Regions from separate parts of the Homo sapiens genome. Here all the other regions are linked to region 1. Evidence: promoter capture Hi-C in 16 types of primary human blood cells and fetal thymus (Javierre and others, 2016). All regions are on one chromosome and are shown on one strand. The core of a region is centred on a gene start or on the middle of the fragment in contact, and the rest is flanking DNA. Distances in the headings are between cores, read along the strand shown. Region 1 holds the start of OR6C76 (olfactory receptor family 6 subfamily C member 76). Region 2 holds the start of OR10A7 (olfactory receptor family 10 subfamily A member 7). Region 3 has its middle 24 kb from the start of OR10P1. Region 4 has its middle 24 kb from the start of OR6C6.

Region 1 (3,604 bases), core at 450-2,949:
TGCTGGATAATTTTCTCAGTCTTCTCCTGGGACACAGGTCCCAAAATCAACCAATTAAAATATGATTGCTGGAGTCAAACTTGTACATGGATTCACTAATGCCCTATTATTGTTTATCCCAAATGTCATTAAGCATTTGTTTCCTTAAAGCATATTTCTGAAATTATGTAAAGGAAAATATATTAAAGGTATTATTTACTTTTTTCCTAGGGAAAATTAATAGAAATGGCCCTCTGTGAAGTATCAGAATAGCCTATCGTAAATAATTCTAGAATTTTTTTCATTTATGTCAGCAAAACTTTTAACTAAGGATTTATTGTTAAGATGGTTGGTGGAATATTTCAGGCTTCCAGATTTTGGACAGTGTTGGGTGGAAACATGAGGAGACTATTTCACTGGATGTGTTAAGATGAAACATCAAGATCTTTATGATGAAATCTGTAACTTTGTAGGAGGGGAGAAAAAACAGTTATTTCTTCATGTAGAATTGACTCACTACATGACTTTTGATTTAAGAGAATTGAGCACATTATTTTCTGTTCAATATTTAACTCTAACCATCCAAATTTTCATAATAGGTAAGTATTTTAAATTTATTTTTTGTGATTTAGCTTCTATCCATTCTATTCTGTAGCACTGATTAATCTCATATCATATTTATTTCCCTCTCTGTCTCTTATGTATATGCATATTTAATAGTTCAGAAATTAATGGAGATTTAAAAATCTTTTAAATGGTAATTTCTAGCAATTAAATAGGTAGAACACAGCATATTTTTCTTAATATTTATACATTTACACTTAGAAAGAGCTGGTGCATATTACAGATGTGGGTGTCCAAGATAGTTACTAGACAACATATGTGAAGTATTTGTGCATTTTATATCTGATTTAGATATATGAAGTAGTTGTGTACTTCATTAAAATATTTTCTGAACATGTTTTGGGTGCCTGACTACATTTAAAACATTTTACTAGAAATTTTAAAACACTCAACTGAAAAATACTACATTAATTGGATTTTAATGAAAAGGCTCTTTAAAAAAAATCAAGAATAAAGATAGGAGTTTCAGAGGCACCTGTATTACCTGAAAATAGAATGTGTGGTGGATTGAAAAAAAAGTGGATACTATCTATATAAAGCCATTGTTTAAATGTTCAAAACACATTAGAATGACTTACCCACTGAATTATTATTTTGTTTTACAAAGAAAGGGGTAAAAGATAAATTAACAGAGGTAGTAGTGTCTACATCCTAAAAAAGATATTTATAATTTTCACCAAAAAATTGGGTTGATCACTGATTTACATCATCAGTCCAAATTTTTATTCCTATAAAAGATACAGTAAGCAAAGCATAATGCCCCCTACATTTTAGCTAAATAGTAAAGCATTAGAAAAGTTTATGTTCTATTAATACATTTCCCCAAAATAAATGTAAACTATGGAGACAGAGTAAACATGTAGCAGTGACTGATATTAAATATAGAAGATATATCTTTAAAAGCAGAATTATGGAAAATAAGAAATATAAATGTATATATATACACTATTTTAAAAGTCCCAAGTGCTTCTTGTCACAATTCAATAGTATTTGAAAAAAAAATGTGCAAATATTTATACTTGTCTTTGGACTCATTGTTTTGTTCCTTTTGATGTTGATTTTATCAGTAATCTCTGACAGGAATCAATCATCAGAAATGAAAAATAGAACATCAGTGACAGATTTCATCCTTCTGGGTCTGACGGATAATCCGCAACTGCAGGTTGTGATTTTCTCGTTCCTATTTCTTACGTATGTACTGAGTGTTACTGGAAATCTAACTATCATCTCCCTTACCCTGCTGGATTCCCACCTGAAGACCCCCATGTATTTCTTCCTCAGGAATTTCTCCTTGGAAATTTCATTTACTTCTGTCTGTAATCCTAGATTTCTGATCAGCATTCTAACAGGGGACAAATCCATATCTTATAATGCTTGTGCAGCTCAGCTATTTTTCTTTATCTTCCTTGGCTCAACGGAGTTTTTCCTCCTGGCCTCTATGTCCTATGATTGCTATGTGGCTATATGTAAGCCTCTGCATTATACAACCATCATGAGTGACAGGATCTGTTATCAGCTTATAATCAGCTCTTGGCTGGCTGGTTTCTTGGTAATTTTTCCACCACTGGCCATGGGCTTACAGCTGGATTTCTGTGACTCCAATGTCATTGACCACTTTACCTGTGACTCTGCTCCTTTGCTGCAAATCTCTTGCACAGACACAAGTACTCTAGAGCTCATGAGCTTTATTTTAGCTCTGTTTACTCTTATATCCACTTTGATATTAGTAATTCTCTCCTATACTTACATCATCAGAACTATTCTGAGAATCCCCTCAGCACAGCAAAGAAAAAAAGCCTTTTCAACCTGCTCCTCACATGTGATTGTTGTCTCTATCTCTTATGGAAGCTGCATCTTCATGTATGTGAAAACATCAGCAAAGGAAGGAGTTGCTTTGACAAAAGGAGTAGCTATACTCAATACCTCTGTCGCTCCTATGCTGAATCCATTTATTTACACTCTAAGAAACCAGCAGGTGAAACAAGCATTTAAGGATGTTCTGAGAAAGATTTCCCACAAAAAAAAAAAACACTGATTTGAATGCAATTTATAAATGAAACACACACACATTTTTTACCGAAGAACCAATAAAGATTTCAGCTTTAGTTCCTTTCTGTCTTCTTATTTGTATGTCTTCTCAGGAACACAACTGTTTCTACTATTTTATTTAATGTTAAATTAAATACTAATGTATTTAATGTTCTTACAAGTCCTTATATGAATTTATAGAGAAAAGTCATTATTAAATGATCTGATGCACATTCCTTGGTACAATTCAAAGAAGGAACTAAAGTCATTTCCTATATTAATCTATATACTTAAAATAATATAATTGTAATTATATTTATCACTGCCAAACTTATTTCAACAGAATATGATAATGTATCATCTATGTTAACTCACATAGGTGAATATATGAATACACATGCACATGTATGTAGTCAAATATATGTGTGTTTCTGTGTGTGTCAATGTTTGTGTATGTATACATGTGTATATTCATATATTCATATATTTGCATATATGAATATACACACATGTACACATTGTATGTTCATACATTCACATATATGAATATGCACACATATATACATATATTCTAAAGCTATTATATTTATGTATAATCTTTATATATTATAAATATATTTATATATAATATATAAAAAATATATATTTATAATACACATAATATATGTGTGTATATTCATATATGTGACTATATGAAGAGTGAATATATATATTCACTCTTTCCATTTTTTTTCTTTAAAATGAAACTTAAAGGAAACTCTGGGATATAGTAATAACTGGTATATGAACAAACTCTAAGAATTTAATAATTTAAATAGGGGAATTAATTTTTATAGTGATAATATTTAATTTATGCTTAACTTATATCTTATATAAAATAGAAAAAAATTAAGTTACATTTGTCATTATGACAGCAAATTATGAATTAGAATAACCTTTATTAGTTTTTCTTTTGTTTTTAGATCAATTTATT
Region 2 (3,604 bases), core at 760-3,259, 200 kb before region 1:
ATATTCAGTAGAAATGTGATTAATATAATTAAATATTAGAATGTCAAACTAGCCCATTATTTATCTTTATTGCATCCTGAAATCATTTAAAAATTAGTACACTATTCTATTTTAATTATCTATCTACACTCTTTCCACTTTATCCTACAAAATAGCATGCCTACGTTGAAGAATATGAGCACAGACTATGACTACTCATGAGAAAAAAATTACATCTAGGTGGTAAACAATGAGTAAGATTTATACAGAATGTTTATTTTTCCTTAATTTTATCTTATCATAAACATCATTTCTGCTTCAGAGAAACAGAATGGTAAGACAACTGAGAATAAAGATGTTTTATGGATGTTATTATTATTTTTGAGATTACCTCTATATTGATTTAATACCCTTTGATGCACATACTTTGATTTTTAGAGAGAAACTCATCTAAGATATGATCTGTGAAAATCACACCAGAGTCACTGAATTTATTCTTCTTGGTTTTACAAACAACCCCGAGATGCAAGTTTCCCTCTTTATTTTTTTCCTGGCCATTTATACAGTCACTTTGTTGGGCAACTTTCTTATTGTCACAGTTACCAGTGTGGATCTCGCACTTCAAACACCCATGTACTTCTTTCTTCAAAATCTGTCACTTCTTGAAGTATGTTTCACCTTGGTTATGGTGCCAAAAATGCTTGTAGATCTAGTGTCCCCAAGGAAAATTATCTCTTTTGTGGGCTGTGGTACCCAGATGTACTTCTTCTTCTTCTTTGGCAGTTCTGAATGTTTCCTTCTCTCCATGATGGCTTATGATCGCTTTGTGGCCATCTGTAACCCTCTCCATTATTCAGTCATAATGAACAGGTCCCTATGCTTGTGGATGGCCATAGGCTCTTGGATGTCCGGTGTTCCTGTGTCTATGCTACAGACAGCTTGGATGATGGCCCTTCCTTTCTGTGGACCAAATGCCGTGGACCACTTTTTCTGTGATGGTCCCCCAGTGTTAAAACTAGTCACAGTGGATACAACCATGTATGAAATGCAAGCACTTGCCTCCACACTCCTGTTTATCATGTTTCCCTTTTGTCTCATTTTGGTTTCCTACACCCGCATTATCATAACAATTCTGAGGATGTCCTCTGCCACTGGCCGCCAGAAGGCATTTTCTACTTGTTCCTCACACCTCATTGTGGTGTCCCTCTTCTACGGAACAGCCAGTCTGACCTACCTGCGGCCCAAATCAAACCAGTCCCCTGAGAGCAAGAAGCTAGTGTCATTGTCCTACACTGTCATCACACCTATGCTAAACCCCATCATCTACGGCCTGAGGAACAATGAAGTGAAAGGGGCTGTCAAGAGGACAATCACTCAAAAAGTCTTACAGAAGTTAGATGTGTTTTGACTTCTATTGTGTAAGAATGCTTCCAAAGTAGGGACAGCAGAACCTACTAACCAAAGCTTAAAACGGAATGGAAGAGTTGCTCTTATTTCATCACTAACTGGTGGGTGCATTTCTGTGTATCATTCAGGTTCCTAGCAGGAAAGAGATGGTACTCCTGAATTGGGATAAGTGAGAAAACGCTTTATGAGAGGGCTATTTAGAAATTGTGAACAAGGTTAGGTAATAGCCACACAGATCATACAACAGAACTTTTACACTTCTTGGCCTGAAGGGGCAAGTAGAAGGAGTGTTAACTGGAACCAATAGAATGCTACAACTATTAAAAAAAAATCACCTGATAGGATCTCTGTTCTTTAGTACAGCAAGGCAGCCATCCCAACCTTATTTTGATCTGACTCTCTCAAATCTATTGCTGGCTTCTGTTCTAAGCCAAACCAAATACAACATGGGGACAAGAATGTTGATGCAATGTATAAATGCGAGTCTCCTGGGGCACAGAGCAGGATGAAAAAGGGTAAGGAAAGTTATGAAAGATAAGTAAGAACAGCCACCACAAACCACTGTATATTCTGCAGCTATTGCAGTGTAACAACGAATCATGGCATCTAACCTTACAAAAATTATAAAAGGTAAAGTTTTGCAGATGCCAAGAGTCCATAATACAAATTCTTTATATGGGTTGTATGTTTAAATAAAGTTATTTAATAAAATTACCTTAGTATTAATATTTGGTGACATGATTTTGGACTTTTTTAGTCATTGGCTAAATTATCCATTAATTATTTAATAGTAAGCTCTTCTTAGAGTTTAAACAAGAAATATTTGCTTGACACCAGAGTAAAGCAAAAGAGTAATAGTAGTAGCAAACATGGTTTATTGAGGAACTGTCTTTGACACATGCCCTTGCAACAACTCAAGAGATAATTATTATATCTATATTTTTCATAAAAGATAAATTACAATCAGAAAATGTAAGTAACTTGGTAAGGCAAAAGCTATTGAGATGTGGCCACAATAGTTTGAGTCAGACCCTTTTGAATTTGAAATTCAATATATTAACCTCTTAAAAATGTCTAGTCACATTTTTATTAAGTTAAAGTTGCCACCTACATGGGAATTTGGCTTTCAAAACAATGGAGAAGACAAGATTGTCAAATTTAATTATGCAAAATTTATATTTCCAGTAGAATAAGCTTATATCGGCTTTGAGAATGCAACTGGAACAATAATATATGTTCCCGTAAATCTTCCTTAACCAAGGTTTCTGTTAATTGTACAGTTTCTTCTTCAAGCAGTAACAAACCTCCATGTTTCTTTGTTAATTTTCAGAAAAATTTAAAAGCCACCACAAATTTCCAACTTGTATTGACTGTTTTAGTTTAATTTTGATTTGCTGAAGTACATATTTATTGCATGTAATGGGAGTTTGAGGTAAAAAAAAAAAACTATTCCTTTAAATCTTTCTCCTTCAATAATCTCTTAATTTTTAAGCCTAACTCAGATATTCTTGAATTAATGTAACTAAGTTCAATAACCATCTCATAAGACTCCATTATGATGGTTTTCTACCAGCTGCATGTGACTCACAAGTAGATTGTGAGGTTATAAAATAAATTTAGTAGTGCATGTTAATGTGTCCAACAAACTAGCACAGTAAAAAGAAGTATATTCTTGACAATTAAAACTTGTATATATTTAGAGTGTACAACATGATGTTATATATAACAATTATGAGACCAAAAAAATATTTAAGATATATATGCGTATGTATATACACATACACATATTGTGTAATGGCTAAATCAAGCTATTTTAACGTACGCATTACTTCACATACTTATCAACTTTTTGTGGTGAGAAAACCCACAGGCTATTTCCAATTCTTTCATTCAGTATCTTATTGTTCTTGGTTGAAACAGAAACTATTTGAAAATCACTCTAATAATCTGTAAAGAAGGTTCTAGAACTGTAAGAAACTAAAATTTGACAACAATAAATAATAAGGAATGCTTTGTGATTGACATGGGAACACTCATAGTGGAGGTCTAGTAGAACTCAGTCACTTTACAAGTTAATTGGTATTTCCTCTTTTTCTTACCCACTTTCTTACAGATTCAGCTTTTACATCTTTCATAAATTTACAGGCTATGTTTATAGCCTGTGTCATTTATGGTATTTTGTTTCTCTTAAGCATTTTTTACAAAATATACGTAGTCA
Region 3 (3,604 bases), core at 715-3,214, 190 kb after region 1:
TAAAAGAAAAAAACAGGGAGGAATAAAGGGAGGGAGACAGGAAAGTCATTGTCATTCAATAGTTCCTCAGATTCTGAAAGAGGCAACTTTTCTTGCTAGGGAAGAACCTCCAGAAGCTTCTGCTCTGCTTTCCTGAATCCATGGGGAAGCAGCAGGGAGGGGGAAAGAAATGATGCATTTCAGGAGAAATTTTTCCCTTTTCATCCTAATTTCTGATGGTCCTATTTGCCCAGAATTGCACATTTCTGGAAAGGGCTTGAGGTCCACAATGGCCAATCAGACTGTGGTGACTGAGTTCTTCCTCCAAGGCCTGACGGATACCAAAGAGCTTCAGGTGGCTGTTTTTCTGCTCCTGCTGCTTGCCTACCTTGTGACTGTCTCTGGGAACCTGATCATCATCAGCCTGACCTTGCTGGACACCCGCCTGCAGACATCTATGTACTTATTTCTCCAGAATCTGTCCTGCTTAGAAATTTGGTTCCAGACAGTCATCGTGCCCAAGATGCTGCTCAACATTGCCATGGGGACCAAGACCGTTAGCTTTGCTGGGTGCATTACCCAGGACTTTTTCCACATCTTCTGGGGGCCACAGAGTTCTTCCTCCTCACAGCCATGGCCTATGACCAGTATATTGCCATCTGCAAGCCCCTCCACTACCCCATGCTCATAAGTAGTAGAGTCTGCACACAGCTCATCCTCACCTGCTGGCTACTAGGTTTCTCCTTCATCATCATGCCTGTCATCCTGACCAGTCAGCTTCCATTCTGTGATACCCACATCAAGCATTTCTTCTGTGACTACACGCCTCTAATGGAGGTGGTCTGCAGTGGGCCAAAGGTGCTGGAGATGGTGGATTTTACCCTGGCCTTAGTAGCACTGTTTGGCACCTTGGTACTCATCACCCTGTCCTATGTCCAGATCATCCAGACAATTGTCAGAATCCCCGCTGTCCAGGAGAGGAAGAAGGCTTTCTCTACCTGTTCCTCTCATGTCATTATGGTTACCATGTGTTATGACAGCTGCTTCTTTATGTATGTCAAGCCCTCTCCAGGAAAGTGGGTTGATGTCAACAAGGGAGTGTCTCTAATCAATACAATTATTGCCCCACTGTTAAATCCCTTCATCTGTACTCTGAGGAACCAACAAGTTAAGCAGGTAATGAAAGACCTAGTCAGAAAAATGACTTTGTTCCAAAATAAATAAGGGCCCTAAAAGTCATCTTCTGGGGAAAAAATGGGTGCCTTCTCCAGAGTAAGTCCACATGACATCAGGCCAAGAGGCAGGAGTCAGGGGCTTAGGCCCCCATTGCACCCCCAGCAAGGTGCAGGTTTCCCCACAGGCCATAAGGAAAATGTCCTGATATCATATGAAGAGTCTTATTACCTAGCCTCAGTCTTAGGTTTGCACCTTCTTTTATCACTCTGTCAGCCAAAGAAATGAGAAATAGCTAGCCTATGTCCCCAGGTGCCCTCAACTAGACTCCAGTAACAGCTGACATTCGTCAGCATGCCAGTTTCATTTTTAACACCTATAATGTTTGTAGAACACTTCATAGTTTCAAAAGCATTTTCTCAACACTAACCTCACTCAATCTTCACAATAACCCTGCGAAACAGATGGAAAAATTATTATTTACATTTTACATAAGATGTTGATATACTCAAACAGTTTAAGTGTATTGCCAAAGATCACACAGGAGACCAGGGTTCAAACCCACAACTTCTGGATCTAAACGCAATACCACATTTCCTACAGATGTGAGACATCTGGATTTAATAGTCATCTTTTGCTGCACGCAAATTATCCCAAAATTTAGCAGCTTAAAACAGCAAGCATTGATTATCTTGGTTTCTATGGGTTAGTAATTTGGGTTCAGCTTAACTCAGAGCAGCTCAATAGGGCTGTTGTCTCATCTAAAGACTCTACTGGGGGTGGGGCATGGTGGTTCATGCCTATAATTCCAGCACTTTGGGAGGCTGAGGTGGGTGGATCACCTCAGATCAGGAGTTTGAGACCAGCCTGGCCAACATGGGAAAACCTCATCTCTACTAAAAATACAAAACTTAGCCAGTCATGGTGGCATACACATGTAGTCCCATCTACTCAGCAGGCTGAGGCAAGAGAATTGCTTGAAACTGGAAGGTGAAGGTTGCAGTGAGCCAAGATCATGCCACTGCATTCCAGCCTGGGTGACAGAGTGAGACTCCATCTCAAAAAAAAAAAAAGACTCAACTAGGGAAGGATTAACTTCTGAGCTGCTCACTCCAGTTGCTGTTAGCAGGCTCTAGTTCCTCAGTGATTGTTGCCATGTGGGCACTCTATAAGAAAGCTCATAACATGGCAGCTGGCCTTCTTTAGAGCAAACAAACGAAAGAATGGCCAAAACAAAAGTGTTTTATAACCTAATGTTAAAAGTGACATCACATCATTTTTATCATATGCTATTTGTTAGAAGTAAGTCACCTAGTCCAGCCCATATTCAAGAAGAGGTGAGCACACAAAGACATGAATATCAGAAGGCAGGGATGATTTGGGAAACATTACATGCAGCCTATTACAATCTACCCTCTGGCACAGTCCACCAATGATTCATGTCCCTCCCACATGCAATATATATTCCACCCTTCTCGAAGTCATCAAAGGTCTCATCTTGTTATAGTTTCCAATCAAAATCCACAATCTTATCATCTAAACCAGGTCCAGGTGTAGATGAAGCTCCTTGGGTGTAGTTCCATAGGTACATACAGCCCCTAACTACTTTTCTCAATCTGTGACCTGTGAAACTAAAAAAGACAAGTTAACATCCCCACACACACCCAACATACAATGATGGGGTAGGCATAGAATAACTATAACTATTGCCACTCAAAAACAGGAAAAGAAAAGGAATTACTGGTCCAGAAAAATTATGAAATCCAGCTGAAAATGATGGAAACTCCTTAACTCATTCAAAACTTGGGAGTAATTCATTATTCCTCTTGGGCCCTTGGTCCTGCCCTCTGAGTCATTTTTTCCTTTTTCATGAAAAGTAGCACACAATTGTAGCTGAATAGTTTTCTCAGCCTTCTTCCTCCCAGTAGAATTACAGTGACCCAAATGCCTCTTTCTTATTTTGTACTGTCTTCTTTTCAATCCAAGATGACAGAGTTTCTGGGGATATAACTCATTCGGGAACTTTATGGATCTCCAGTGTATCTTCTTGATGCTTGCTTCATTAGATAAAAACCACAGCTAAGGCCTGAAAGATCTTTAAAGGTCCTGGTATCCCTATTATTTTATTGAAAGGACCACTGAAACACATTCTTAATTTCTTTAAAAGGTCTTTTGTGCCTGGTACTTAGGCACCACCTTGATATTTCTGAGGTCTTAAAGTATTACAGTCACACTCTTGATATCACCTCTGGACTAGTTTTCCTGACAGTGCCCTGTCAGGAATTAAGAAATTAAAATTAAGAAACCATTTCTTAATTTTAGCATCATTTATCATTAGAAGAGAATTTCAAAAACTATCAAGTCCTGGATCCATCCTGTTTAACAGTGTTTACTTCAACTTTCCTCTCTCCTCTCACTATAACTGTCAGGAAGAAATCAAGTGGCACCTTCA
Region 4 (3,604 bases), core at 494-2,993, 150 kb before region 1:
ATTGGTTATATTTTTATAACAAGTGTGCACTGACACACACACACACAGACACACGCCCTTATATTAAAACTAGATTTTTATAGATTGTGCAAATAGTTGATACATTTTCACTAAAATGGCAAACAAGGAAAGAATATCTTCTATATCCACTTCTATTTATCATGGAGTAAAAATTTAGTTCAAAGATCTCAATTGGCTTTATTGCAATTCTAGAATCTGGCAATACTTCATTTCATAAAACAGAATACATGTTCCAATGAGTCCAGTGGAGAAGATTGGCTTTCTAAACAGAAAAAGGGCTGAAAAAAACAGAAACAAAGAACAGAAAGCAGATTGGTCGTTTCAAAGCCTTTCCTTGTAAGTTGGGGGCAGGAGACAGAACAGTAGAAAGATTACTGACTGACTAACATAAGGTTACTTCATGTTACTTTTGGTTGTAAAGATTAAAACAGAGGGAACTTAATTATCATGTCAATTGAAGATTAAACCTGGGCTATTTGGAAAACTGGCTGTTACTCTCTCTCCTGATTTCATAAAGTCAAGTAACAACTTAGTTTCCCTTTGTTGATTTGGATCTTTAGCATGAATGACTACAGTCTGATTTAGTAGTGTGGTCTGTTGGGGCCTAGTGCAAAGCTTAATCTAAAAAAGTAATTTCCTATAAGTTTTAGTTAACAATTGTAACAATGGCTAATTAACCATAATTAGCCACTGCTATTAGAGAAGTGAAATTAATCGAGGTAGCATTATTAAATAAGAAGTATTTTTAAAAATTTATTTTTATTTTATATATTAAAGATATACAACATAATGTTTTTATACATATACATAGTTAAGTGATTACTAAAGGTAAGAAAATTAAAATATACATCACCTTTCACAGTTATCTCTTGTTTGTGGTAAGACCACCTAAAATCTACTGTCTTCACAAATTTTCAATATATATTACAATATTATTAACCATGGTCCTGCTGTCCATTAGACCTCTAGACTTATTCATTCTACACAACTGCAAGTTGGTACCCTTTGACCTACATTTCTCCGTTTCCTTACCCTCACCATCCCTGGTAACCACTGTTCTATTCCATAGTAAGTATTAATAATATCATGCAGTATTTTTCTTTCTGTGTCTGGCTAATTTCACTTAGCATAATGTCCTCTAGGCTTCTCCATGTCATCACAAAATGACAGTATTATTTCTCTGTGTGTGTGTGTGTGTGTGTGTGTGTGTGTGTGTGTAACAAATTTCCTTATCCATTCATCCATCCATATTCACTTAGGCTGCTTCCGTATCTTACCTATTATGAATAGTGTGGCAATGAACATGAGAGTGTAGATATTTATATGAGGTGTTTATTTTAGCTCCTTTTGTTATATACCCAGAAAAGAGAATGCTGGATCATGTGGTAATTCTACTTTTAAATTGTTGAATATCCTCCCTACAGGTTTTTATAACGTTTGCACCAATGTACATTCCCACAAACAATGTACAAGGGTTCTCTTTTCTCCAAACCTTCACTGACACTTGTTGTCTCTTGTCTTTTTGATAGTAGACATCTTAACAGGTGTGAGGTAATGTATCATTGGTGTTTGGTTTTACATTTACCTGATGATTAGTGATGCTGAATACCTTTTCATATACATATTGGTCATGTTTATGTCTTATTAGAAATGTCTATTCAAGTCTTTTGCTCGTTTTTAAATTGTTTTCTTACTATCAAGTTACATTTCTTTATAGATTTTTTATATTAACCCCTTATCAATATATAGTTTCAAATATTTTTCCTATTCTGTAGGTTGTCTTTTCATTTTGTAAATTGTTTCTTTTGTGGTACAGAAGTTGTTTAGTTTAATTAGATCCCTCTTGTCTAGTTTTGCTTTTGTTGGCTGTGCTTTTGGTGTCATATCTAAAAATAATATTGCCAAGGCCAATATAAAAGTGCTTTTCTCCTATGTTTTCTTCTAGAAATTTAAGATTTAAGATTTTTCATTTAGGTCTTTATCCATTTTCAGTCGGTTTTTGTGTGTGTTGTAGATTTTTGAAAGATCTGTACACTGAATACTATAAAACGTTGATAATAGAAGCTAAAGAAGAGACAAATAAATAAAAAGATATCTCCTGCTCATGGATTGAAAGAATTCATATTGTATAAATGTCCACAATACTCAAAGCAACAAATAGATTCAATGATGTCTTTATCAAAATTCTAAAGGTATTTTTCATGGAAGTAGAAAAACTATTCTAAAATTCTTATGGAATCACAAAAGAAACTTTGTACATTCTCACAAAGAAGGACTATGCAGCTATAAAATATTTTGGGATATCTCCATAAATTGATATGGAGTGTTTGATTGGATATATTGTTAAGTGAATAAACAAAAAGGAAATAGGTATTTATAATATAGCACATTCAGCTCTAGGGCAATTGGTCTTCAAGAGGCTATGTTTTCCATCTCACATTCACTTTTCATACTCAGTTAAAACATCCTTCCTTAACTATGTATCTGGGATTTCAAAAGAAGAATGTGTGGTGGACAATCAATGTATATTGAATTCTCTGGGGGCATAGTTACAAGAAGTAAAAGTGTGTGTGTGCGTGTGTGTGTGTGTTTATGTCCATAGAGACCATTTTTGTAAGATCCAATATGGTAATTCCCTAGGAGATGATGTTCTTGGATCTCAGTTATTCTGAGAATTATTTGTTTGTATTTCATATTTTCCTGTAATGCACAGAAGGCATAAGTTTTTTATGGCTTAAAGAGATGATTAATTTCCATATTGCACTGTGTGTCATATTTAGGAAAGTATGCAATATTTAATATAAGTAAATTGTATAAAAAGTTATTTGATAAGCTTTCCTAACATGCAATAAATTATTTTAAAATAATATTTCTAAGACAATCATTTAAGCTGATCATATTTTGGGGTAGAATAAAGTGCTTAGGGAAAGAATGAAATATCAATTTTTCCTGTTCACCAGGATTTTTAGTTTAAGTATTGAAGTACAGAAGAGCTGCCTGAATCTGTGTATATAACTTATTAAAGAAAGCAGTTAACCTACCTATTAAGGAGTTAGTCTTTTTACCTCCTTTTACATTTTTAACCTGTAGATAATGGTGAAATATTATAAATAAAAAACAATAATTACTTAGATTTGAAAGTTTTAAAATTATTGATATTTATGTTATAATATTTAACAAAAGTAAATATAATTGCATTTATTTGTCCGTGTTATCTTGATTTTATAATGTGATTTTTTTGTGTGTGTTCTTTCACAGTGCATGTTGGATGGATAGATGGTATGTATGATTGTTGAATGGAACAAATCAATGGTTTGATATGATAAAATTCTAGTTTATGTAGCGTATCACTGTGCATTTGTATTAATGTTGCCACTAGCAAGATTTGTATAAATGAAAAACATTTTATAATCTATTACTTCACTATTACCTGAATGTGCTAGATTAGAAAACTCTAGGAGGTAAGGCCACTTTTCTTTTTACTAGTTTAGGGGTTTATAAGCGATTACTAAATAGAACTCTATTTTTTCTAACTAAATCATGATTGAGCCATTCTTTTTACTTTTGCTTATGCTACTTTGTC

Evidence for each region. Contacts are between HindIII fragments. The CHiCAGO score rates a contact against its expected background, and 5 or more counts as called.
Region 2: a contact is called between a fragment that was not itself captured here and the fragment with the promoter of OR6C76 in region 1, in 1 of 17 cell types (neutrophils). The highest score is 5.4, in neutrophils.
Region 3: a contact is called between a fragment that was not itself captured here and the fragment with the promoter of OR6C76 in region 1, in 1 of 17 cell types (erythroblasts). The highest score is 5.1, in erythroblasts.
Region 4: a fragment that was not itself captured here is called in contact with the fragment with the promoter of OR6C76 in region 1 in 1 of 17 cell types (neutrophils); the score reaches 5.1 in neutrophils.

What each region holds. Positions count from the first base shown.
Region 1 is chr12:55,424,555-55,428,158 of GRCh38, forward strand. It overlaps OR6C76 (olfactory receptor family 6 subfamily C member 76), which reads left to right and starts at 1,700. Exons shown (of 1, transcript NM_001005183.1): 1 at 1,700-2,638. The coding sequence starts at 1,700. The coding sequence ends at 2,638. The HindIII fragment of the contact is 7,547 bases long and covers 1-3,604 here.
Region 2 is chr12:55,220,589-55,224,192 of GRCh38, forward strand. OR10A7 (olfactory receptor family 10 subfamily A member 7) reads left to right here and starts at 437. Exons shown (of 1, transcript NM_001005280.1): 1 at 437-1,387. The coding sequence starts at 437. The coding sequence ends at 1,387. The HindIII fragment of the contact is 1,137 bases long and covers 1,442-2,578 here.
Region 3 is chr12:55,611,355-55,614,958 of GRCh38, forward strand. It overlaps the pseudogene OR6U2P. Among named protein-coding and RNA genes, the nearest start is that of OR10P1, 24 kb to the right of the region's middle. The HindIII fragment of the contact is 3,700 bases long and covers 115-3,604 here.
Region 4 is chr12:55,270,470-55,274,073 of GRCh38, forward strand. No RefSeq gene overlaps it. Among named protein-coding and RNA genes, the nearest start is that of OR6C6, 24 kb to the right of the region's middle. The HindIII fragment of the contact is 2,218 bases long and covers 635-2,852 here.